Linked DNA regions of Homo sapiens: all the other regions are linked to region 4. The links are contacts of gene promoters, found by promoter capture Hi-C in blood cells and fetal thymus (Javierre and others, 2016). All regions are on one chromosome and are shown on one strand. The core of a region is centred on a gene start or on the middle of the fragment in contact, and the rest is flanking DNA. Distances in the headings are between cores, read along the strand shown. Region 1 overlaps RASSF5 (Ras association domain family member 5). Region 2 overlaps SRGAP2 (SLIT-ROBO Rho GTPase activating protein 2). Region 3 overlaps EIF2D (eukaryotic translation initiation factor 2D). Region 4 holds the start of IL24 (interleukin 24). Region 5 overlaps IKBKE (inhibitor of nuclear factor kappa B kinase subunit epsilon).

Region 1 (4,285 bases), core at 1,727-4,226, 330 kb after region 4:
GGAGAGTTCTGGAAAGAGCTACAGTTTAGTGGTTAGGAGCTCTGGCATTAGATTACTTGGGTCCAACTTCAGGATCTGCCACTTACTATTATGTGACCCTGGGCACATTATTTGACCCCTTCCCGTGCTTCAGTTTCCTCTTAAGTAGCAACAATAATGTACCTACCTCGTATGGTAGTTTTGAGGATTGAGTGTTTACCAGTAAAGCACCTAAGACAGTCCCTGACACATATCAACGCCCAATCACCAGCCATTACTATCGCACATTCCAGCCATTTCCCAGCAGCCCCTTGTGCCTGCCCTTGTCTGTGAACACAGCCTTATACCTCCACACACCCCAGTCATGAGCCCTACCTCTGGCAACTGTGTTTCTCAAAATGGCCTTTACCATCCCCAGCCCCAGAGTTCGCCAAGTCTTCCCGTCTTACAGAGGGAGAAAGTGAGGCCTAGAGTGGTGGTTCCCCGAGGTCACACACAGTGAAGGCTGGGTGTGGGTTCCCAGGCCCAGGGACAGGCTCCCTTCAGGTACAGGGCCCCAGTACAGCCTGCTCCTCCCCGCTCCATCCATTGACTGTGGGTGCCCAGACCAATGGCACTGCCAAACCAGGATCTTTCACCCACTCAATATTAAATTGGGAGAGTAAAATAAACAAAAGATTTATGGGTTTCTTCCTCCCCAATCTGCCATTCCCCAAAGCTGAAAGGCAGACAGAGGGAATCTGTCAGAGCAGGCTCCCCCGCTCCCTCCCATGGACCCCTCTGCCCAACCCCCTCGGAGGCCCCACTAGAGGAAGACAGAAGACCCACGCCAACTCTCCTGCCAGCAGGTGCCAGGGCTTGGTTGCTTAGTGACCCAGCCCTGCCTACCCCCTTCCTCCAGCGCAAACAGCTGAACAATCACAGCTGGGGTGGTGGGGGCTGCTGTAGGTTTGAAAAGTTGTCCTTGCATTTTCTGCTCACTCAGTGGGATTTTTCATTTCCTGATAACTGGAAAAATCCATTTATTCCACATCCAGAATCTTAGCAAGCTTCCCTTTAAAATAGTCCTGAGATCAACTTTCACAAACCTTGCCCTAAAGTACTTGCTCATGTCCCCTGGGAAAGAAGCTCCAAACCCACTCCTCCTCTGTCAAACCCACATTAAGCACTTACCACGTGCCAGGGGACACAGTGATGAACAAGCTATGGTCCCTGGTCCAGAAAATTATAGCCCATTGAAAGGAGAGATAGGAGAGAAAGAGCGGCGAGGTGTTTGGGGAGCACAGAGAAGGGGACATCTGAGTTACAACTGGAAATGCCCTCTAACACTCTGGAATCACCAGCTCCCACATTCTCCTCCTGAACCCACGCCTTCCCAGCCAATTGTGAGCATCGACATTATAGGTGCCAAGTGCCTCTTCACTGTGCTCCAGCCAACGGAGGGGATAGGTGGAGCTTCAGTTCTGGGGTGAGAAGACCTGCCTCTTGCTCCCCACTGCAAAGCGAGGGCCCTGCAGACCCAGTTCCTGCATGTCATCCACAGCAAAGTGGGGGGAACAGTTCACCACCACTCACCACATGGGGGAGAGCCTGGAGATGAGGAGGATAATGAGGGGTTCACGAATTGGAGGCTGATGAGATGATCATGATAACAAAGTACAGTAACCCAGATTTCCCAAGACTAGAACAGGAAAAAACGGCCTGAATTTCAGCATCAGGAAATTGACTGAATGAGAAAAACAGCTTCCTACGGCAGGACATCAGAGCTTGAGAGGGGTGACTGGAGCTTATTTGGAGCCTTTCAAAGCTGGACTCTTCCCTCAGCTGTGTGTGTGGTGGGATGAGCATGTGCTTTAGAGCTGGACAAGCATGGGGGCTGGCAACCTTGCCCTTGGCTCACCCCCTTTCACATGTTACCTCATAGAATGTGTCAACTTTTTGGCTTGATGGTAGCAGAAATTCCGCCAGCGACATCTGTCAGGCATGAACACTCTGCTGCCTCCCTCCCTGCTTTTCTTGCTTAGGATGGTAAATTAACTTAGTCTAAGATGGTAAACTAACTTAGGATGGTGGTAATGAACAGACCTTCCTTCCCCTGCCTGTCATGGGTTATGTGCAGTCCTGCATGGGGACAGAGGAATGGCTGTGATAACCCCTAACCATCTCCTCCAGCTCCAGGAGGCTCTGCTTTTCAGAGGTGAGGTAAATCCCCCTCCATCCTCCTCAGTGGTGGTGCAGCTCTGTCACTGTGTCTGCTGGCAGCCTGTTCCCAGCCCCTCGTGGGCAATTCCTGTTCAAACCCTTTGATTCTAGGAGTCAGGCCCTCCATCCTCCCTGTCTCAGGAGTTGCTGCCATGTCATGATAAAGGCCATGTGGCTGCAAGGCAGTTGCTGAGAGCATCTTCCACTAGGATATGGAAGGGCCTCCATCCAAACACTTCATGGATGGGGAAGGGGAGCAGCTAGGGTCTGTTACACAATGTGGGCTGGGGGCCCTAAGGCCTTCAAGTACAGAAACCCCATCTCATCCATCTTTATGTCCCCCACCTGTGGTGCTCAGTGCTATAGGAAAGTTAAAAACACAACATTCTGACTGAGGCCAGGTGCTGCAGAGTTTGGACGCTGTACTAAAGAGGGAGAACCAAGTATGGGCTTCACTCCGGAAGGAAAGGGAACCTGGGAAAATTTTGGGATATGGGAAAAATAAGCCCTTGGCAGTTGTAGGCAGGATACACAGAGGGGAAAACACAGGATTGAAACTGCAGGGTAACTGACTTACTGGGGCATCTCAGTGAGAGGCTATGAGCAGCCAACACAGGGTGAGGCGGGGACAGAGAGGAGAGGCCTGACCTCTGCAGCACTGCGGGGACAGATGGGGTGAATAGAAGAGGTGAAGACCCCTGAGGTATTGAAGGTGGGGGACTAGGAGGGTGGGGCAGAGACAGAGAAATAAATGAGTTATGAGTTGGTTCTGGACATACTAAATTTAAGGTATCTGAGACCTCCAGGAAGCTGTAGAAAATGCCATTCTAGAGCTAGGAAGAGAGGTGGGGCGAGGGATGTAGGCTGGAGAGTGATTAGCTAAAGCTGGGATGCTGTGGGAGAAGAGGGGAGATGAGCCCCCAGGACAGAAGCCTTCTGTGAACAGAAGCCACAGGCTCAGCAATTCAAGCCTGAAGCTGTCTGTCAGTGCAGCTCTTTTCTTCCTCCTGGCCCTGAAATCAAGTGCTCCTGATTCGTGGCACTTTATCTCATCCTCTTGTCTCTGGAAAATATGCCAGGCTAGGTCTGGATCCCCACCCCATGCTCTTTGAGGTAGACTAAACCATGAAGAAGAAGAAACCAAGGACCTGCAGGACAGGTCTCAGTTCCCCACCCAGGGAGCTCCCAAAGCCAGAAGATACACAGGTGTGGGGTACCTGGTAAGTGAAGAGCAGAAGAGAAGAGAATCGAGGTCCCCAAGCTAGGACCCCTTCAAGCTCCTAGGCTGGGAGTTGGATCCAAAGCCTGATCTGACAGTGTGCAATAAGACCTGGGATTCAAGGTTTGATACTGGCATAAAATCTTTCTTCTTTTCTCCCTAAACTGCTTGGGTGGGTGGATATTATGTGTCCCAAACTGTAAGTGAAATTGCTTTATAGGGAAAAGCTGATTCTGGATAAACTATCTAAACCTGTGAAGACAGAAGGAGGGCAGGAGGGGAGGAACCAGAACAGAGAGTGAGGGATGGCCTGGACTAAGCGGCGTGTGAACAAGGATGTCTTGGGTGAGTTCCAGGTGGTCCTGGAGGAGGTCGTCTCTCTGACCCCTCCCTAGGGGAAGTCCTTATGGTTTAGAGAACTTGGCAGCCAATATCTAGAATCCCTACCAGGCCCATGAGAAACTAGTAAAAAGGGTCTGTTCCCATGCAAAGAGGCAAGGGACTCTCAGCAGGGAAGATAAGGACACTCACATGACAAGGGTGTTTGTTGAGAAGGACAGGATGAAGTACCTGAGTCTGATGATTGAAATGACTTGGCCATAACCTCTTAGTGGCTTGAGCTGGATGGGAAGGGAGGACTTCATTTACAGTTAGTGCTGTGTGTCTTCCCTTACATCATGTGCCATCAAGATCTCAAAGGGCCTTGAAATAAGAGTTCAGCTTGTGGTGATGAGACTAGCAGAGAAAGCTCTGAGCAGGACCCAGGGGGCCTGACTCCTTGAATCTGTCTCTACTGAGCTGTGTGACTGGGGGCAAATCCTCTTCCCTCTCTAGACTTCAGTTTCCAGCCTAGGAACCTCTTAGGAATCTGTGACACATTCTCTT
Region 2 (4,473 bases), core at 1,848-4,347, 440 kb after region 4:
GGGAGGGGGCAGATGTTGGCACCCAGGGACTTCGGAAGGAGAGGGACACAGAACTCGTTCTCTCCTCGGCTTCATCTTCTCTTGCATTCTCCATGTCTTCATTCCCTTGCCACCCCCAAGCTGGGTGAAGGAGAAATGGATACTTACTTGGTGGTCACGGGCTTTGTGTTGTCAAGATGTAAGTTGCTGTCAGAAAAAATGTCTGATTAAGCGAAGGTTTCTAATGGGAAAGAGATTCATGGAAAGGCCCCTTCTGTGACCTGCCATGAACAGAAACCTAAGGCCCCAGCTAGGAGAAGAAGTCTCACCATCACCAAAGAGGTCAAGATTGCTGGTAAGAGGATAGTTAACTTTTCTAAATTTTAGCATGACTCTTTTTCCAAAAAGACTGTAACTGTTTTGGGCTCTGGCAAGAGGCTGTTGTTGCTTATTCTGTAGGCATGGAGCAGAATAGTTTTCAAGAGGCAGCAACACTGCAGAGTTGGGGCCCAGTTTGTGCGTTTTCTTAGTGTGGAAATACCTCTACATGACTCCCAAGTCACCCAGCACTGGGCTGAACCCTGGATCTGGGCGAATTTGTTTCAGACCACTTAGGGCTCTCAGACAAAATGGCTTGGCAGAATCCCAGTTACATGGGTGTTGCCTGCTGCTGGATAATTTCATTTTGTCTTGGAATCAGATCTGAAAAGGTCTAATCTAAGAGGCAATGAAACTTCTGATTTGGATGGCTGCTGAACAGCTCTGATCTTGAATCTAAGAGAGATGGGGGCTGAGGCAGGAGTTGAGGTGGAAGGAGGGAAGGGGTTAGACTCTGAAGATAAGGAGCTGGTCTGTGAGGTGGGGACAGTGCTCTAAGCCAGTCCTAGTCCTGTTCACTGCTGAGGTCTTCCTCATCTTTCTGCCTGCAGGGCCTGGCCCAGGACCTGGCATGTATCAGTCACTCCGTGAGTCTGTCCACTCGGCAGTTTTAGGCTTGTGACTCAGCCGCTCTCGAGTGGAAAAAGGATGTTCTCAGAGTCTTCTAAGGCCCTGCTGAAATGAACCCCCTCTCTGCAAGGATTTCCCTGGCACCACTAACTCCAACTGCACTGGCACCACTGCACCACTAACTCCAGTTGCAGGAAGAATGGACCCCTCCCTCCTCTGTACCTTCAGAGCATCTGATGCTACCTGTCAGTTACCTGTCCATAGGGTCTTTACCTTGCCAGACTGTGAGCTCTGAGATCAGGGACCTCGTCTTTTTTATCTCTGAATAAACACCAGCAGTGCTTGGCACAACAGTAGATACTTAATAAATGTGTAGAATTAAATGGAAGTGCCACACCCTAATAGCTCTTTGCTGATTTCCTTTTTCTGCTTGAGGATAGCTGACTCATGGGCTGAAACTGCTGAGAAGACAGATTTATGGGGTGGCTGTGGTGTGCCATGTCCCAGGCTAGGCCCTGGGGATGTAAAGAAAAGGAAGATATAGTTCCTGGGTTCAAGGAGCTCAATCTGGTGGGGGATCTGAGTGAAGCGTGAGTACCAAAAGGTATTCAAAGTGTCTTTGGAATGCAGCATAAGGGCACCTCACTCAGCCTGGGGAAGTCAGGGATGTCAGAATGGCTTCCCCAAAGAGCTAAGTCTTCGGACTGAGTCTTGAAGGGAGATGAGGAGGTGACCAGGTGAGGAGACAGCAGGCGTGAGCGCCCAGGGGCGAAAGAGAACCTGGGCACTCGGGAAACTCAAGGAATTTGGGAGGAGGAGTGGCGTGGGGGGCAGGAGGTAAGACTCAAAGGCCGACTCACTTCTAAGGGCCAGACATGCCCCGGGGCCACCGCTCACCCACCCACCAGGTGATGAGGCTTGTCCTCCAAGAACCCCATCCCAAGACTCCTGACACCAGCAAACAAGGAGTTCAAGGGAACCACCTTAACTGTCTACAGATACTCTTTTTTTTTCTTCTTCTGTTTACCATTTCAGTTATTACTCTCTACAATTTCTATGCACAAATGGCATCAAATATATGATGGCTTAAAAATATGTACTTAACTAATTATCTAACTCTTCCTCCACCAACCCCGCCTTGGTTTCTGAGTTAATTATAGGATCACGACCTTTTGATTGTAGGGTTACAATTTAACACAGAATTGTAAATAAGGAAAAAAATGTGATTAGCCCACAGTTACTTGATATTGGCTTGCCCTCCCAGCAGGGCAGTGTGCTGGAGGGAAACAGAAACTTCTCAATTTTTTTTTAACTGGTCTGAATTAAATTATAACTACACTGAGTAAGTGATCTGAATAAACGACTTTACTAACTTGAGGGTGAAAGAGATGGAAAAGAGCCACGTGCCCCAACCACTCCCCCTGCTACCGTCTGGGTGGAAAAAAGCCAAGAGATCTGGGAAACCTGGTATAGTTTAAAAACAACAAGCATCCTTTATTCTCCTTCCAGTCTCAGTGTCCAGAGGCTACGGTTAACAGGTTTTCAAAGTGCAAATCATTTCATTCCTCAAAAGCCAGAGGGGAATAAAAACTGTACATCATCTCCAATCCATATTCATCAGGAGCGCCCTGGGGCTTGTCATCCTGCTGGCACGGGGCCAGGTTTCAGGGCCTGGCGGAAAGAGGTCTGTAGGCTTTGGGACTTGGTGTCTGGCCCCTTGAGATGAGATTAGTTCTCCAATAACCTGAATGCCTCTTGGGGAGGCGGCAGCACGCAGGCGTAGAATCCCTCTAGACAGCCAGATCGGGCGTGGGTGGAGTTTAAACCCCAGGATGTTGCTAACAGCCACAATGAAAGCTGGGGGTCAGAGGTAAGAGCCTGCTGAGCAGGAGTGGGGATCTGCAAAGGGACTAAGGGGGTAGAATAATACAAAAGGCCAAAGCAATAGGAACAAAATGGAAAATTATTTCTCCTGGTGTGAAAGGGCAGAAGAAAAGGGAGCTAGGGGTTAGCCAATGAATGAAGAGCTCAGGACAAAGCTTTCCTTAGGGACATCGTGGCCTCCTTTCCTCCACAGGAGTGAATGCAGGACAGGGGGAGGAACAGACACATGATATCTCAATAAACCCACCTGGTGTAACATCAGCCTAGTAGAAGCCACACACAGACTCTGAATCTTTGCACGAACACGGGTCAAGGAAGACAGACATCAAAGACTATTATTTGAGTATGGATTGGAAAAAAGAAGGCACCTCTGAGAAACAGTACAAAACCAGGTTGCATAAAGTGACCAAAGCTTTGGTCAAAGTTTTAGCTGTAAGACTGCCACAAAGGTCTGGGTGGACAGACACTGCGGGAACACACAGTAAAGCACCCTTCCACAGCACGAGGGCAGCTAGCTGGAGACCTGGACCTGCCCCGAGGCTTGTAGCAGCATCCTCAGCCCTGTCCGCCTTGCAGCAGCAATGACCACATGCAAACTGTTAGGCTGGGGGAGCTGGGAGCCCTACGTGCAGCACAGGAATGGAGATGGGGGTTAGGCCAGAGGGTGAGGCTGGGTGTTGCAAGTCATTCAGGGGAGCAGAAAATGAAAAGCAGAGCTTACTTGTTGATGTTTGCAAGATAAATATCGGCTACATGACCCCCACTGGGACAGCTGGCCCCCGCTCTGGCTGTCACCTTTTCTTCAGGTGGCTCAGAAATGACCTCAATCTCAGACTTGGGGCTGGACCTCTCCACGACACCGTCCTCGCTGGGGGAGAAGGGGCAGGCAGGCAGGGAGGAGGGAAAACAACAACAACACAAAAAGCAGCGTTAAATCGGCAAGATGGCCCCCCGACATACACGCGACCCCACACAGCTCTGAGGCAGCAGCGACACCTGGCTGGACTAGTTCTGTGAGCAGAGGCAAGGAAACCTAAGGGCCTTTGAAGGGTCGTTTAAATAAAAATAAATAATCCGCTGAGTTCTGCGGGCTCCTCAGCTCCTCAGGAAAGCGTGGCTAGGGGACACCTGGATTCGAGGCATCTGCCTTCTACCCCATGCTGCTTCCTGGGGAGGCCGTGCTGGGGCGGCCTCCTGGAGAAGGAGGCGGCAAGTCCAGGTTGTGGTTTATCGGCTGAGGTCCTGAGCACTGCCGGGTAAGGACAGTCAACTGTGTGGTGGCTCTGGAGACGGCGGCGTCGTGGCAGGACACCGCCACACACTGTCGTAGCGCCTCTAGCCCCGCTCAGAGCATCCAAGCCGGTCCCAGGTCTCTCCACTGCTCTCCTGGCCCCTCTGGCTACTGATGACAAAGAAAGCCCCTTCTCCCCCACAATTCATCTTCTCTTGATCCTGTGGTGAAGTCATAATGCTAAATTTGGGAGGGTCCTGTCCACGCACAGATTGCCACCAGGTTTGCGATGCTATCAACAGAGGGAGGATTTCCCTGCAGAACGAGCCGGGAAGAGGCTGGGAGGGTGCAGACTCACTCAGGATATCAACCTTTAAAAAATAATATTAAGGGAAGGACTAAAAACACTGACAGCATCGTATCCAAGGGAG
Region 3 (4,431 bases), core at 1,453-3,952, 300 kb after region 4:
ATCTTAAATTTTAGCCAATGAAAGGATATTGAGGACCGGAAAGTTAAAATTCCTGAGATTCTGTGAACACTGCCTCTGCCGTGGGGGTTCTGGGCAACCTCACAAATCGGGCAGCGTGTCCTCTGCAGGAAGTGTCCCAGGGCAGCCTCTTTGTCAGGAATCTTCTTCTGGAACATTCAACCTCCTCACACTTCTGAAAAGTATGTGGGGGGCCACATTAGGTTTTATTAGGAGGAAGAATTGGTGTGAACACCCCCCGTCCCGGCCCACCCCATCCAAAACACAAGCCATCAGGAGTGGTATTATTGCGTGTGGATAGAACCTGGATTTTGAAGACAGAGCTGTCTGTACTCAACTGCTAGGTCTCCAGGGTGTTCAAGCAATGTGCATTTTAGCTTGTTACTGGGCTTCTCTGAGTCCTAATTTCTAATAATCATGGGATTGCTGTAAAGATTACATAGCCTGAACCATAATAAGCATTCAGTAAATACTATCATGTCAGGAGGTTTGCTTATTGATTTTTACCCTGAGATTGAATTTATTTATTTATTTATTTTTTGTTTTGAGACACAGTTTCACTCTGTCACCCAGGCTGGAGTACAGTGGCGTGATCTCGGCTCACTGCAACCCCTGCCTCCCAGGTTCAAGAGATTCTCCTGCCTCAGCCTTCCCGAGTAGCTGGGATTACAGGCACATGCCACCATGTGCAGCTAATTTTTGTATTTTTAGTAAAGATGGGGTATCACCATGTTGCCCAGGCTGGTTTTGAACTCCTAACCTCAAGTGATCCGCCTGCCTCGGCCTCCCGTAGTGCTGGGATTACAGGCGTGAGCCACTGTGTCCGGCCTGAATTTATTTCTTTTTGAGAATCTGGCTGTGGTTTTTTAAAAAAGTGATTCTTAATGTAATGTCTTCCCATTTATACTTGGGTGTCTTTAAGCTATCCTGTACAAATGTGGTGTCTGGAGTGTGTGGAGGGATACTTGGTAATCTGTTCTGACTTTCTTGGGTTGCAAATATATGGTAAAGGGGCCCCAGAATATTCTGTAGGATAGGATTCTGGGGTGGATTCTAGAAGGACTCCTCGAGAATCCACTGCTATTGCGTGTCATGTTTTGAGAGAAGATGTAAGCTTTTATCAGGAATGTTCTCTCCAAAACTAATTGCTGTAGTGCAGGGGTCAGCATGTTTTTCTGTAAAGGGCCAGATAGTAAATATGAATATTTTCAGTTTTGCAGGCCACACCATCTCTGTTGCAACTGCTCGATGCTGCCATTGTAGCACTAATGTGACCATAGACAGTAGATAATTAGTTGGCCAGACCTGACCCCAGGATGCGGCTTGCTGGGCCCCACTCCAGGCCTGGCTGCCCACAGTGTGAGTTTGCTGTTGCAACTTTGGAGGCCACAGAAGGTTGTCTGGTCTGGGAGGAATCTAAGGCTGTATCCAATGTGGTAGCCACTGGCCACATGTCGCTATTTTCAGTTTAAATTAATTTAAAGTAAATAAAATTTAAAATTCAGTTCCCTTGGTCACATTAGTCACACTTCAAGTACTTACTACCCACATGTGGCTAATGGCTGCCCTGTTAGACAACACAGAGAACATTCCACGTCTATGGAAAGTTCTCTTGAACAGCACTGATTTAGAATGTCCCATAGTCTGCATCCCTCTCTGCTGTCATCCCTGGGCAGAGAGTTCTGGCACAGTGGCCTCTCTCTGAAGGTGGGGGAGGAAGGCTGAGGAAAAAGGCCCTCCTCTCAGTGTCAGGCAGGTCCCAGTATGACTGCTCATTAGTTTAATTTGCCTTTTCCATCTGCCATCAGCCCCGAAGGACGACAACTGGACATAAAGAAGTCAAGCTACAAAAAGGTAAGCAAGGATCTTCTTTGCAGACCCATGCAGAGAGTTGTGTAGGGGCACATATGACATAAGCCAGATGGATGCTGGGGAAGCCTTGTCTACCAGGCTCAGTCTAGAATTAAGCTTTTTGACTCCAAGTATAAGGGGGAAGAAAGAAACTCTCCCTGGGCTGAAGCAGTTGGTGGCACCCACTTTCCTTTCTCCTTTGACCCCTTTATATCTGATTAGAGTTCTGAACGGCCTCACTGGTTAGTCTCTAGCAGCTTCTTGCTCCCTGGCCCTCAGGTTGGGGGCCTCCCAGTTCCTGGTTGATGAAGGCAGGGGCTGTCTCATATCCCTGCACAGTCCCTGCCTAGCTCACTCTGGCACATCCTGGGTGCTCAGTATGTGTGTGGAATCAATGAAGTCCCCTACCACTGGCCCTCTCTCCCTTAGCTCTCTAAGTTCCTGCAGCAAATGCAGCAGGAGCAGATTATACAGGTGAAGGAGCTGAGCAAAGGGGTGGAGAGCATTGTGGCTGTGGACTGGAAACACCCGAGGTGAGTGCAGGGGGCCTGTCACTGTAGCCCAGCTGGCCCCAGGGCACCTGGGCCACGGACTGGGGATTGCTGAGATGCTAGTATAAAATGTGTTTTTTCTTTCCTTCTGCTGGGTTTTAGGATTACATCTTTCGTCATACCCGAGCCCTCCCCGACCTCCCAGACTATCCAGGAGGGTAGCAGGGAACAGCCCTATCACCCTCCAGATATAAAACCCCTCTACTGTGTCCCAGCCAGCATGACCCTGCTCTTCCAGGAGTCTGGCCACAAGTGAGTTTTTGGAGAGCAGCCCTTCTCTGCCTGCTTGGTGTTCTGGCCTACAGTTCCTCTCAACCTGAGTAGTGCTCTTTTGCGACTGGCAAAACCTGCTCTGCCCCTGTTCTCCCCTTCTCCAAAATCCAGCTTCCAGCCTTCTTCCCTGGGCAAGTTCCTCTGGACTAAATGAACGAGTAGGTCTCACCCTTTTCTGCGTGTAATTATTCTTCACATGGTCATGCTCACTTCAGTCAGGAAAAGGGAAGAAACTAGAGGCCGAAAGCTAAGGAAAGTTCCCTGCTCAGCAGGGAGTGAGTCTGGGCATCTGCATTTTTGTCTCATGGCACAGCATGAACTAACCCCTGGGTCACTTCTCCTCACCTAGGAAGGGGAGCTTTCTGGAGGGCAGTGAGGTCCGAACGATCGTCATTAACTACGCCAAGAAAAATGACCTGGTTGATGCAGACAACAAAAAGTGAGTGCATGAGAAGCACCAGATCTGTCTTATTGGGTCTTTGTCTTTATCAGACATAGACACATTTGGGGAGGATGTCTGGGAGGGAGAATAGAAAACCATAGCATCTTAGAGGTAATTAAGATCAGTGGTTTCCAAACCATGGGCTGTGGACACTCAGTTATTGTCTGGGGTGTTCAGATCCATGTATACGATCAACATTGACTACCGACTAAGTAAATATTCTCTCACAAATACCCATGAATCATCTTTAATTGGCTATTGTGAGGAATAAAATGCAAGCTTACAAAGAATTTACTGAAGTCATCATAGCTTTAGGTATTTATTTTTATTGATAGATATTTGTACATATTTATGGGGTGCATGGTATTTTGTTACATGCACAGAGTGTATAACGATCAAGGCAGGGTATTTGGGGTATCATCACCTTGAGTATTTACCATTTCTATGTGTCGGGAACACTGTAAGTCCTCTTTTCTAGCTATTTTGACATACACAATACATTGTTGTTAACTACAGTCACCTTACTCTGCTCTCAAAGACTAAACTTATTTCTTCTATCTAACTGTATATTTGTACCCATTATGGTATTATTTTCTTAAAAGGAGATACAGATGGTAAACTACCAGATGAAGAGAGTTCCATTAATTGTTTTTTACTTTAATGGCCGGACACTGTGGCTTATGTCTGTAATCCCAACATTTTTGTAGGTTGAGGTGGGAGGATTGCTTGAGGCCAGGGGTTTGAGACCCACCTGAGCAGCATGATGAAACCCTGTCGCTACAAAAAATACAAAAATTAGCCGGGCATGGTAGGGCATGCCTGTAGTCTCAGCCACTTGGGAGGTTGAGGTGGGAGGATCGCTTGAGCCCAAGAGGTTGAGGCTGCAGTGAGCAATGATGATGCCACTGCACTGCAACCTGGGTGATACAGTGAAACCCCATCTCAAAAAAAAATTTTTTTTTCACTTTAAAAAAACATCATCATGATAAAAAAGTTGAGACATACCAGCCTAATCTAATACCTTCATTTTATTTTATGTTTTATTTTTATTTTTGAGACAGAGTTTTGCTCTTGTTGCCCAGGCTGGAGTGCAATGGTACAATCTGTGCTCACTGCAACCTCTGCCTCCCAGGTTCAAGCGATTCTCCTGCCTCAGCCTCCCAAGTAGCTGGAATTACAGGGATGCGCCACCATGCCCGGCTAATTTTTGTATTTTTAGTAGAGACGGGGTTTCACCATGTTGGCCAGGCTAGTCTTGAACTCCTGACCTCAAGTGATCCACCCATCTCGGCGTCC
Region 4 (4,505 bases), core at 1,077-3,576:
CTCTCTTCATGGTTTCCCTTGGGCACTGCTTATTTCACTCGAGGCTGCCCACATTTTTTCTGAGCCCCAATTTCCTCATGTGTAAATGGGGCTTGTGGTGCCTTCTGACCTCACAGAGTTATTATATGGGAAACTGGAAACTGATTAGCAAGCTGTGAAGGACTCCAGAATCATAAAATAGCATCCCCTCGCCCCACTGGCCCACTGCCCCCAGGAACCCCCACGACTGGGTCCAGAACAGCACTTTACTCACCATAGTGTCTTTCACAGCCCAGAAGGCTTCCCACAGTTTCTGGGGAACAACCCCCTTCACTTGGCAGGGCCCAAAGTGGAATTCTTGGCCCTGGGCCCCTGATACCTGGCTCCAGAGAAGCAGGGTAAAACCCAGGCAAGGGAGCACAACCATCTGCATTTGAGAGGCTGTCGCCAGCAAAGGAGGGCAGAAGGGTCTGCTGAAAGAAAGGGAGGCAGCCTGTGAGGCCGGCCCTCTGACCCAGAGTTACATGCCCTGGGAAAATGCTCCGAGGGTCTCCCCGGGCCAATCTCGAGCACTCTCCAATGGGCAAGTTGAGACTATTGCAAACCGGCAGCCTTGCTAAGGTGCAGTGGGGGTGAAGCAGGGGTCTTTCTGCCCCTCAAACTTAAGGCCGCTCGTCTTGCCATCTGTCCACCTGCTCTTCCCCACCTTGCCCGTCCACACCCACACGCCCTGCACCTCCTCCTTCTCCATCGCAGTTCTCTCTAGCCTACAACCTGCGAGTCAGAATTTGACCCAGAAGAGTGGAGAAATGGGAGGTTCTAATGTGCCACGTCTGGGGAGCCCAAACCCAGGAAAACAAAGAGCTGAACTAGACATGTGCTTATCCAAGTTCTGCCCTGAAGCCACTAGGCACACATAGGCTGGCAGGTCTTTTTCTCCTCCCCAGGAGACGGCTGTCCCTCACTCCTCATCACAAGGGAGCAAGGGGTTAATCCTGGTCCCAGGGAGGGGCACAGAGGGCAGGTCAGGGTCACACACAGACTATGCCACCTCCACTAACCACTCACTCTTGAGTCTAAAAATTCACTTTTTTTAGTAACCAAATGAGAGAGAGGCATCAGATTTCCAGATGAATCATCTCTAAAGCCTTCCTCTGAAGTGCCAGTTGGGAAGGACTGAGTGAAGAGCCTCCAAGCTGGGGAACCTAACGCCATTATGTATTTATTATAACTGATGCAGAGAATTTCTTTCCCCCTGCCTTCTTTGCCCTTTGTCCTTTCCCTCCCTCTCTCCCTCCCTCCCTCCTTACCTTTCTTTCTTCCTTCTTTCCTCTCTCGCTCCCTCCCTTTCTTACTTTCTCCCTTTCTTTCGTACTTCTTTACACAATCATTTAAGAACCTTTCTTACTGCAGGCACTGGTCTGACACCTAAAGAAACTGCCTCCCACCCCTACACCGGGAGGAAGACCAGAGAAGACCCGGTTCTGCTGGTACCTGGGCTAGGGAGGCGGCGACCCCTGGGTTATGGGTCACGGGGGACGGGGGCTATGCTTTAGCATCTCCCTCAATGTCTTTTCATTCTGTTCTTTCAAACTCCACAGGCTTTTTTTTTTTTTTTTTTTTTTGACAGAATTTCAGTCTGTCACCCAGGCTGGAGTGCAGTGGCATGATCTCGGCTCACTGCAACCTCTGCCTACCAGGTTCAAGTGATGCTCATGCCTCAGTCGCCCAAGTAGCTGGGATTTTTGTATCTGAAAATATCAAAAACACATGCCCAACTAATTTTTTTTTGTATTTTTAGTAGAGACAGGGTTTCACCATGTTGGCCAGGCTGGTCTCGAACTCCTGACCTTAAATGATCTGCCCACCTCAGCCTCCCAAAGTTCTGGGATTACAGGTGTGAGCCACCGCACCTGGCTAAAGTCCACAGGCTTTGCAGCCTCTGTTGAAAATTCATCTCTCAGTCTCGTGTTCCTCCTGGCCTTCCTCCCAAGCAGCCTCAATTCTTCTTGGTGTTAAATTGGCGAAAGCAGCTCCTCATCACAGTCATGTCTTGTCCCTACATCAACACTCAAAAAAATTGACTTCTGCTGTCCCCACCTTGACCCCTTTTCACAAATAAAGCAGAGGTCTAGTCCTTCAAAAAAAAGTAACCAAGAATCCCCCATGCTCACCTCTGGTCCTGTAAGTGATGCTTGAGGGCTGGCTGCCTGGAGGCAGCTGGTTCTTTTTACAGAAAAGTTAGACAGGCACCTTCACCATTCACCAATCAGAGGCATAGCTGTGGGTGGAAGGTTCCCGTCCCAGCCGTGGAAGTCATTTCAGAAGTAAAGGTTTGCAGGCAAGCAAGGCTTTGTGGAGATTTGGGCATATATATGGGGGCTGATGGGGGAGGGGTGGAGGAAAAAGAGGGAGGTGGAGAAAGGGAAATTGGTCATGCTTTCCTAGAGAATTACTTCATTGCCTAGTCACCCATCACTTTAAGGACAATACAGCGATGGGGAAAGCAGCCCCTGAGGTGAGATGAGACCTGGGTTTGAGTTCAGGCTCTACCACTGGCTGTGTGGGCAGGGGCAAGTCTCTTAGCTTCTCTGCGCTGCAGTCTCTGCATGTATAAATTTTTAAAAAATTTGTCCCACCTCCCCCCAAGGGCAAGTGTAATAAACAGAGGCAAAAACAACACAGAGGTGCTTGGTAAACTCTGTACACATGTAAATACATTATTACTGTGCAGCATACACCAGTCTCCTTCCTGTCAAAATAATTCAATAATGATGCCCTATTCATGCTGGGACAGTAGTCCACAGCGAAGAAATAACCTGTAAGTACCTCTCCTTTAATCCATCAGGGCCAGGAAGTTGAGGAGTGTTTCCTGACATGCAGCTACCCATGGTCCCTAGGGTTATAATCACTCAACCAAAATGTGCCTCTCCTTAGGTTCTGGAAACCAGGAAGAATAAGGAAATGTACGCATGGACAAGCCCAGAAAGCTGGGAGGCCTGGTGCTCTGGTGGGCTAGTCTTGGCCTGTGTGGCTCTGAACCACTCAGGGGACACAGACAGCGTGATGTGTCAAGACTGCCAGGGCAGTCAAGAGCTCTGACCCTATCTCCAGCTAGCAAGGCACTCAGCTCTAGATTCTACCATGTGCCCAGTGAGGGCATCAAGCAGAGCAGTGTTTCCCAAAGCACAGTCCTCAGACTCTAGGTTTGAGGAATTCTTGTCTTGCAAGATCCTCCATGAAACAGATGAATCCTAATGAGGTCAGTTAGAGAGCCCTGGCATGTGCTAGCCCGTCCTGGAAATGTCTGATGCTTCTTAACTCTGTTTAATCCAGCATTTCCCATAAGTATTTGCCCACATCCCTGAGGAATACATTTTGGGAATCAGGGATTGGCCAACTGTAGGTCACAAGCCAAATCCAGCCTGCCACTGCTAAGCTGAGAATGGCTTAACCTTGCGACCTAAGAGTAGTTTTTACGTTTTTTAATGATTGGGGAAAAAATCAAAAGAAAGACATTATTTTCAGGTTTCCGTATCCATAATAAATAAAGTTTTCATGGGGTCACATATGTTTGTTGACATATTGTTGCTAATTGCTTTCGTGCTACAGAGGCAGAGATGAGTAGTTGTGACTGAGACCATATGGCACACAGAGCCTAAAATAGTTCCTGTCTGGTTCTTTACAGGAAGAGTTTGCCCAACCTGGGTCCAGGCATGGGAAACGGGAGTAGGAATGTGACGTGGGGGACAGGATAACTGCCTCCAGCTCAGTGGAGATGAAAGAAAAGAGGAGAGTGAGTAGAACACACCCTTGGCAGACTCTTCCCAATCTCTCTGGCACCAACACCCCCTCCCTCCATCTCATACTCAGTGTTGTTTATTTTCTTAAGCAAACAAAATACTCCTTTGCAATCCCTGGCCAGCAGTCTGCTTGGCTATAGCTGCCACCAGCCTGAATCCTTTGTTCCTGGAGGGCCCGAGTCTTACCCTCCAGAAGTAGGCACAGCCCCACAGCGCACTCTCTTCCCCCACTCCCCCCTTCCCACCATGTGGATTTAGGGCATTACCAAGAACCCCTAACTAACTACTATGAGATAAAGATGTCAAGAGGCAGTGATGAGACAGAAAAGAAGACCAGGTGAGAGTGCTGGAGTAATAGGTGAGTGGGAGGCAGGAGACAGCTAAAGCAGGAAGCTGAGAGGGAAAATGAGCCCCCAGGGCAGCTGAAATCCTAGACTACTGTCTGCAGATAGGCGGGGAGGGCAGGCAGGTGGGATGAGCTGTTAAAGGGCAGGCTGGAACAGAGGCATGAGGTCATGGATACACCTTGGCTGGCCTCAGGGTACACCTGGGATCGTGAGTAGCTCACTCTGTCTGAGGAAGGAATCATATAACATGGATAGTTCAGGCAAACATGTGCCTGGGCCTCAGCCTCCGATGAGCTTATCATAGCATTATTACTTCAGAAGGAAGGTCAAGGAGAGAACCTAGGAACCTTGGCCCAACATCAGTTGAGAATCTAGT
Region 5 (4,720 bases), core at 1,720-4,219, 410 kb after region 4:
AAGCCTCTTTATTCTTTTTTGTTTGCTTATTTGAGACGGAGTCTTGCTCCTTTGCCCAGGCTGGAGTGCAGTGGCATAATCTTGGCTCACTGCAACCTCTGCCTCCTGGATTCAAGCAATTCTTATGCCTCAGCCTCCCAAGTAGCTGAGATTACAGGTGCCTGCCACCACACCCGGCTAAATTTTGTATTTTTACCAGAGATGGGGTTTCACCATGTTTGGCAGGTTGGTCTCCAACTTCTGGCCTCAAGTTGATCCGCTCACCTTGGCCTCTCAAAGTGCTGGGATTACAGGTGTGAGCCACCGCACCCAGCTAGTCTCTTTAATCTTGCCTCCTAGGCCTGGCATGACGCCAAACCCCTCAGGCTCTAACCTCAGCATACTCTGCTCCCTGCAACCCCCTTCCACACAGATACACAACCGCTTTCTCCCCAGCACTTACTGGAGAAGCAGGTCCTTTCGTGTAGGGCTGGGGTAAGGAGCTATGGGAGGCGGCGAGGCCTGAGCCCCCTTTGCTCGGTCCTGAAGGAGCTGGTGAGATAGCTCTTCCAGGAGCTGCAGGGAAGCCATACTTTGGTCAGCAATTAGTAGCCAGCTTATGTGTGGCTGGGTAGGGGGAGTGCTGGAGGAGGGGAAGACATGGGTAACAAGCGCCCCAGCCTGCATCCCCAGAGCACCTAGAATCCTTCTGCCATGCCCACCTTGCTGAGACTCTCCTGGACCCCCTGGGCTTCTGTGTTACAGGCAGCCACAGAACAGCCAACCAGGCGCAGGTGGTTCCTGGTCTCGTGCACCACCCTCAAGAGAACACACAGAGACTTAGAATTAGAGCAGGACTCAGCCCATTCCCCAGGGCTCGCCTAGCTGCCATCGGATCCACACATGGACACAGGTGGGTCCCGGGTATTTGCCTCCCTCGCTGCCTCTGCCCTGCCAGCTGTGCCCTCCACGCTTGCCCGCCCCACTGCAATAATGCAGAAGCACACAGCTGGCTGAGGCTGGGAGGCCCCCTTCAGAGCCGTAGTGTGGAGCACCAACAACATGCATGTGGCTGGGGCTGGGTGACGCATGCCACCTATGGTGAGCGTGGCACCAGTCAGGCTGCAGAGAGGCAGAGGATAGCCCACACCAGGGCTCTCAGTGTGGGGAACTGCCCACGCTCTCATTTCCAGTGTGAATTCTCTTCTATCTCTAAGTGGAGTGAAGGAACAGGAACATTTTCCCCAAGGCCCAGAGCTGTTAAATCAGGGGTTGGAGGTCAGCCCTCGCCACACATTAGAATCACCTGGAGAAGCTGTACTACACTGACATCCAAGCCCTGCTCCAGAGCAATTACACCAGAATGTGTGGTGGGTTGGAGTAGAAGAAGCAGGCATTGGTATTCTGATATGAGGACGGGTGAGTGCCAAGGTCTCAGCCCCATAACAAGGTGAGGTCCTACAGGCCTCAGAATGTGGTAGCACGTGGGAAATTGTCCTCTCTTCTCAGGAGGGGCCAGTGTTCACACAGGCAGGGGATGGAGAGTGGGCCTGATCTGAGAAGGCGGAACCCAAAACTCCTGAAGGGGACAGTGTGACAGAAGGTTCTACTTAAGGGCCACTGCCACTGTCCTTATCCCAGGGGCACCTAGTGTTCTCCTAAAGGAGACTTCTCAATATAACCAGGTGGAACGGTAGAAAGAATCCAGATTTGATTTGATTTTACCCCTCAAAAGCCCTGAAGAATCTAGATTGTAGAGGCAGGCAGAGCCACATACGAGTCTTGGGTCTGCCACTTACTAGCCATGTGATGTGCAGAGGAGACCTGTTCTCAGAGCCTCAGTTTCCTCACCTAGGAAATAGGGTGATGATATCTACTGTATAGGGCAGGTGTTGTAGGAGTAAATAAGCTGAGCTACAGAAATCTCCCAGCCAACTGCCTGGTCCACCCAGGGACAGAAAACCACTCCTCTGCTCACACCCCTTCACTCACTCCTCCCTCTGCCTCAGGGCTCCACAAAGCCCTGGGTCCTCTGAAGCCTAGAAGGGCCAGGCCAGGCCCTGGGCTCCAGGAGCTCAGGAGGGGCTGTTACCTCATCCTCTTGCCGTGTGTGACTAAGGACGCTTGATACTTCTGCACGCACTCCTCCTGGAACACCTGCAGGAGTCTTTTGGCTAAATGACTGAAATTCACCCTAGAACGACAGAGAACCAAGGTGCAGATGAGCTGCCAGAACCACTATGCACAAGCCCACCATCCCTCAGTCTCCGTCAGTCTCCGTCACCACCTTGTCGTAAGTGCCCAAGCCCTGCGTCCACAGCAGGGCTATGTCTCTGGGAAAGGAGGAAGGACGGTCACACACTTGGATTGTGAAGGTTGCAGTGGCCAGCAAAGCCCACATCAACAGGGAGACGTGGGAGACACACAGGGGGTCCTCAGGGAACACACATGTGCTCAAGCTTAGTCCTCAGGAAAGGGAAGGGAAAGTGAGGCAGCCGTGGAAAGAAGGTGTGTGAGTGCGTGTGTGTGTGAGACAAAAAGGGGTCGGGGTGCTTGTAGAACTGGGGGAGTGAGTTCCCAGATAACCATTAAATCAGGGAGGGCCTCCTGGACGTGAGTGTGTCCGGGAAACATGGGAGACAGAGGAGCGGGGGGAGGCAGGGAAGGTTCAGGCAGAGGGCAGAAGCAGGAAGTGGTAAGTGGTGCATCAGTGAGGACAACTAGAGAAAAAAAAAGCCTGCAAACAGTCTTGTCCATACCAGAAGTAAATCCAGTTACTTCAAGATTGCATCTGAGAAGTCTCCCTCCAACTAAGCTATGCATACTCCCTCCCCTGGCCCCAGATAACCTGTTATCCCCAACTCTGCTCAGCTGCAGTCCGGGACAGGGCCCTTCACTGCCTCTCCTCTGGCGTTGAGAATCGCTCTGCCCTGAGGACACCCACCCTCCTGCCCACCCACCTGCCGGAGGACAGGCCACTCACTTATCCAGCTTGTGAATCTGCTCCTCGTTGTAGCCAAGCCCTGGAGGAAACAGACAGAACAGATGTCACCTATTCAATCAGTCAACGAAACAGTGTGCAGCAAAGGTCGAGAGACAGTTAAAAGATGAAGACGGCCCAGCCTGTGCTGCTTCACGGGAACTCACCGCCCAGCGGAGCAGGAGGGGCAGAGGAGTGAAGCTAGCACCGGAATAGCTGATTAGGACAAAGCCAGGGCCTCAAGAAGCCATGGGGAAATTGTGTGAGGGCCCCAGGGGAAGGCAGCCTGCAGTGCAGGGCCGGGGTGGGGACGTGGGGGATGCTTCAGGTGGGAGTTGGTGGATGAAGTGGGCTTAGAAGGAGGCTCGGTCAACCATAGCCCCTTATCCAGCACCCTCCCAGAGTGACTGATGCCTGCAGCTGGGTGGTCCCATCCCTGAATGTTCATGGGCGCTACCTGCAACGAGCTGGAGAAATCAGGCCACCACCTTCTACCTCCCCGCTCTGCCCAGCCACTTTTGCCAGAAAGGCTGAAGCTTTCATGGCCTTGGCTGCCTCCTGAAGGGCCCTAAGGCTCATGCACTAGGGAGATGCTGCCCCCTCCTGGTCTTCGCAGGAATGGGCCTCCAGGGTGGCGGCAGCCCCAAGATGAAATGATGATGGCGGTTCACTTCGAGGGCCTCCCCATCCCACTCCTCTCATAGCAGAGTCCCCCTCCTGGGCCCTGCACTCGGCCAGCTAAGAGCATGTGTGCAGTCCGAGAGACCTGGGACAAACCTCAGCCCTTCCTCCTGTTGGCAGGCGGCACTAGGCGAGTGATTTCACTTCGCTGAGCCTGTCTCCTTATCCATCACAGGTGCCACTTGGGAGTCCCGTGAGGCTCATGCGAGAGAGCCTGAAGACCACCGGGCATTTTAAAAAATGGTATCTTTCAACACGCTGGGTTTTAACAGTTAGGGGTTCATTTTTAATTTTATTAAAGGACTCTTAAAGACCAATAGAAGTAAAACTCCTTTGAGGCTGTAAAATGGGATAGTTAAAAGCAGCTGGACCTAGATTACTTGGGCTACTTAACCTTTCTGTGTCTTGGTTTTCTCATCTATAAAATGGGGAGGGTAATGATGCCTAGAGGTTTTGTTATTGTTGTTGTTTGAGACAGGGTCTCGCTCTTGCCCTGGCTGGAGTGCTGCAGTGGTGTGATCTTAGCTCACTGCAGTCTCGAACTCCCAGCTCCCAGGCTCAGGTGATCCTCCCACCTCAGCCTCCCAAGTAGTTAGGACTACAGGCGCATGCCCACGTCCAGCTAGTTTTGTTTATTTTTTGTAGAGACGGGGTCTTGCTATGTTGCCCAGGCTGGTCTTGAACTCCTGGGCCCAAGTGATCCTCCCGCTTCAGTTTTCCAAAGTGCTGAGATTACAGACATGAGCCACTGCACACAGCTCCATGTATGTGTGTGTGTGTATATATATATATATATATATATATATATATACACACACACACACACACACACACATATACACACATATATAAAATTTAGTTTCCCAATAGAGATGTGTTATAAATGTTATATATATGTGAATAATATATATATGAATAATATATATATGTGAATAATATATATATGAATTATATATATATATGTGAAATATAAAACAATGAAGTGATGGGAAAGCATCCTGTAGTCCCAGCTAGTCAGGAGCCTGAGATGGGAGGATGGCTTGAGCCCAGGAGGTTGAGGCGACAGTGAGCAGTGATCAT

The links. The method cuts DNA at HindIII sites, captures the fragments that hold promoters and counts their contacts. A CHiCAGO score of 5 or more calls a contact.
Region 1: a contact is called between a fragment that was not itself captured here and the fragment with the promoter of IL24 in region 4, in 2 of 17 cell types (non-activated CD4 T cells and activated CD4 T cells). The highest score is 6.2, in non-activated CD4 T cells.
Region 2: a contact is called between a fragment that was not itself captured here and the fragment with the promoter of IL24 in region 4, in 1 of 17 cell types (activated CD4 T cells). The highest score is 5.2, in activated CD4 T cells.
Region 3: a contact is called between a fragment that was not itself captured here and the fragment with the promoter of IL24 in region 4, in 1 of 17 cell types (activated CD4 T cells). The highest score is 6.1, in activated CD4 T cells.
Region 5: a contact is called between a fragment that was not itself captured here and the fragment with the promoter of IL24 in region 4, in 2 of 17 cell types (activated CD4 T cells and total CD8 T cells). The highest score is 6.2, in activated CD4 T cells.

The regions. Positions count from the first base shown.
Region 1 is chr1:206,563,755-206,568,039 of GRCh38, reverse strand. All of the region lies in intron 2 of RASSF5 (Ras association domain family member 5), which reads right to left. Among named protein-coding and RNA genes, the nearest start is that of EIF2D, 47 kb to the left of the region's middle. The HindIII fragment of the contact is 3,892 bases long and covers 1,031-4,285 here.
Region 2 is chr1:206,454,084-206,458,556 of GRCh38, reverse strand. SRGAP2 (SLIT-ROBO Rho GTPase activating protein 2) reads right to left here. Exons shown (of 23, transcript NM_015326.5): 21 at 3,533-3,679. Among named protein-coding and RNA genes, the nearest start is that of IKBKE, 14 kb to the left of the region's middle. RefSeq lists an enhancer at 3,209-3,880. The HindIII fragment of the contact is 257 bases long and covers 2,969-3,225 here.
Region 3 is chr1:206,597,704-206,602,134 of GRCh38, reverse strand. It overlaps EIF2D (eukaryotic translation initiation factor 2D), which reads left to right. Exons shown (of 15, transcript NM_006893.3): 8 at 1,827-1,872; 9 at 2,299-2,402; 10 at 2,523-2,672; 11 at 3,043-3,132. Among named protein-coding and RNA genes, the nearest start is that of EIF2D, 13 kb to the left of the region's middle. RefSeq lists an enhancer at 1-248. The HindIII fragment of the contact is 1,428 bases long and covers 1,989-3,416 here.
Region 4 is chr1:206,895,264-206,899,768 of GRCh38, reverse strand. It overlaps IL24 (interleukin 24), which reads right to left and starts at 2,326. Exons shown (of 7, transcript NM_006850.3): 1 at 2,154-2,326; 2 at 1,893-2,038; 3 at 254-449. The coding sequence starts at 1,936. It overlaps LOC105372879 (a long non-coding RNA gene), which reads left to right and starts at 3,651. Exons shown (of 2, transcript XR_007066836.1): 1 at 3,651-3,775. The HindIII fragment of the contact is 4,835 bases long and covers 1-4,505 here.
Region 5 is chr1:206,489,101-206,493,820 of GRCh38, reverse strand. IKBKE (inhibitor of nuclear factor kappa B kinase subunit epsilon) reads right to left here. Exons shown (of 22, transcript NM_014002.4): 17 at 2,963-3,002; 18 at 2,072-2,173; 19 at 702-798; 20 at 443-555. It overlaps IKBKE-AS1 (IKBKE antisense RNA 1), which reads left to right. Exons shown (of 2, transcript NR_172918.1): 2 at 745-2,705. Among named protein-coding and RNA genes, the nearest start is that of IKBKE-AS1, 6.3 kb to the left of the region's middle. The HindIII fragment of the contact is 1,057 bases long and covers 2,441-3,497 here.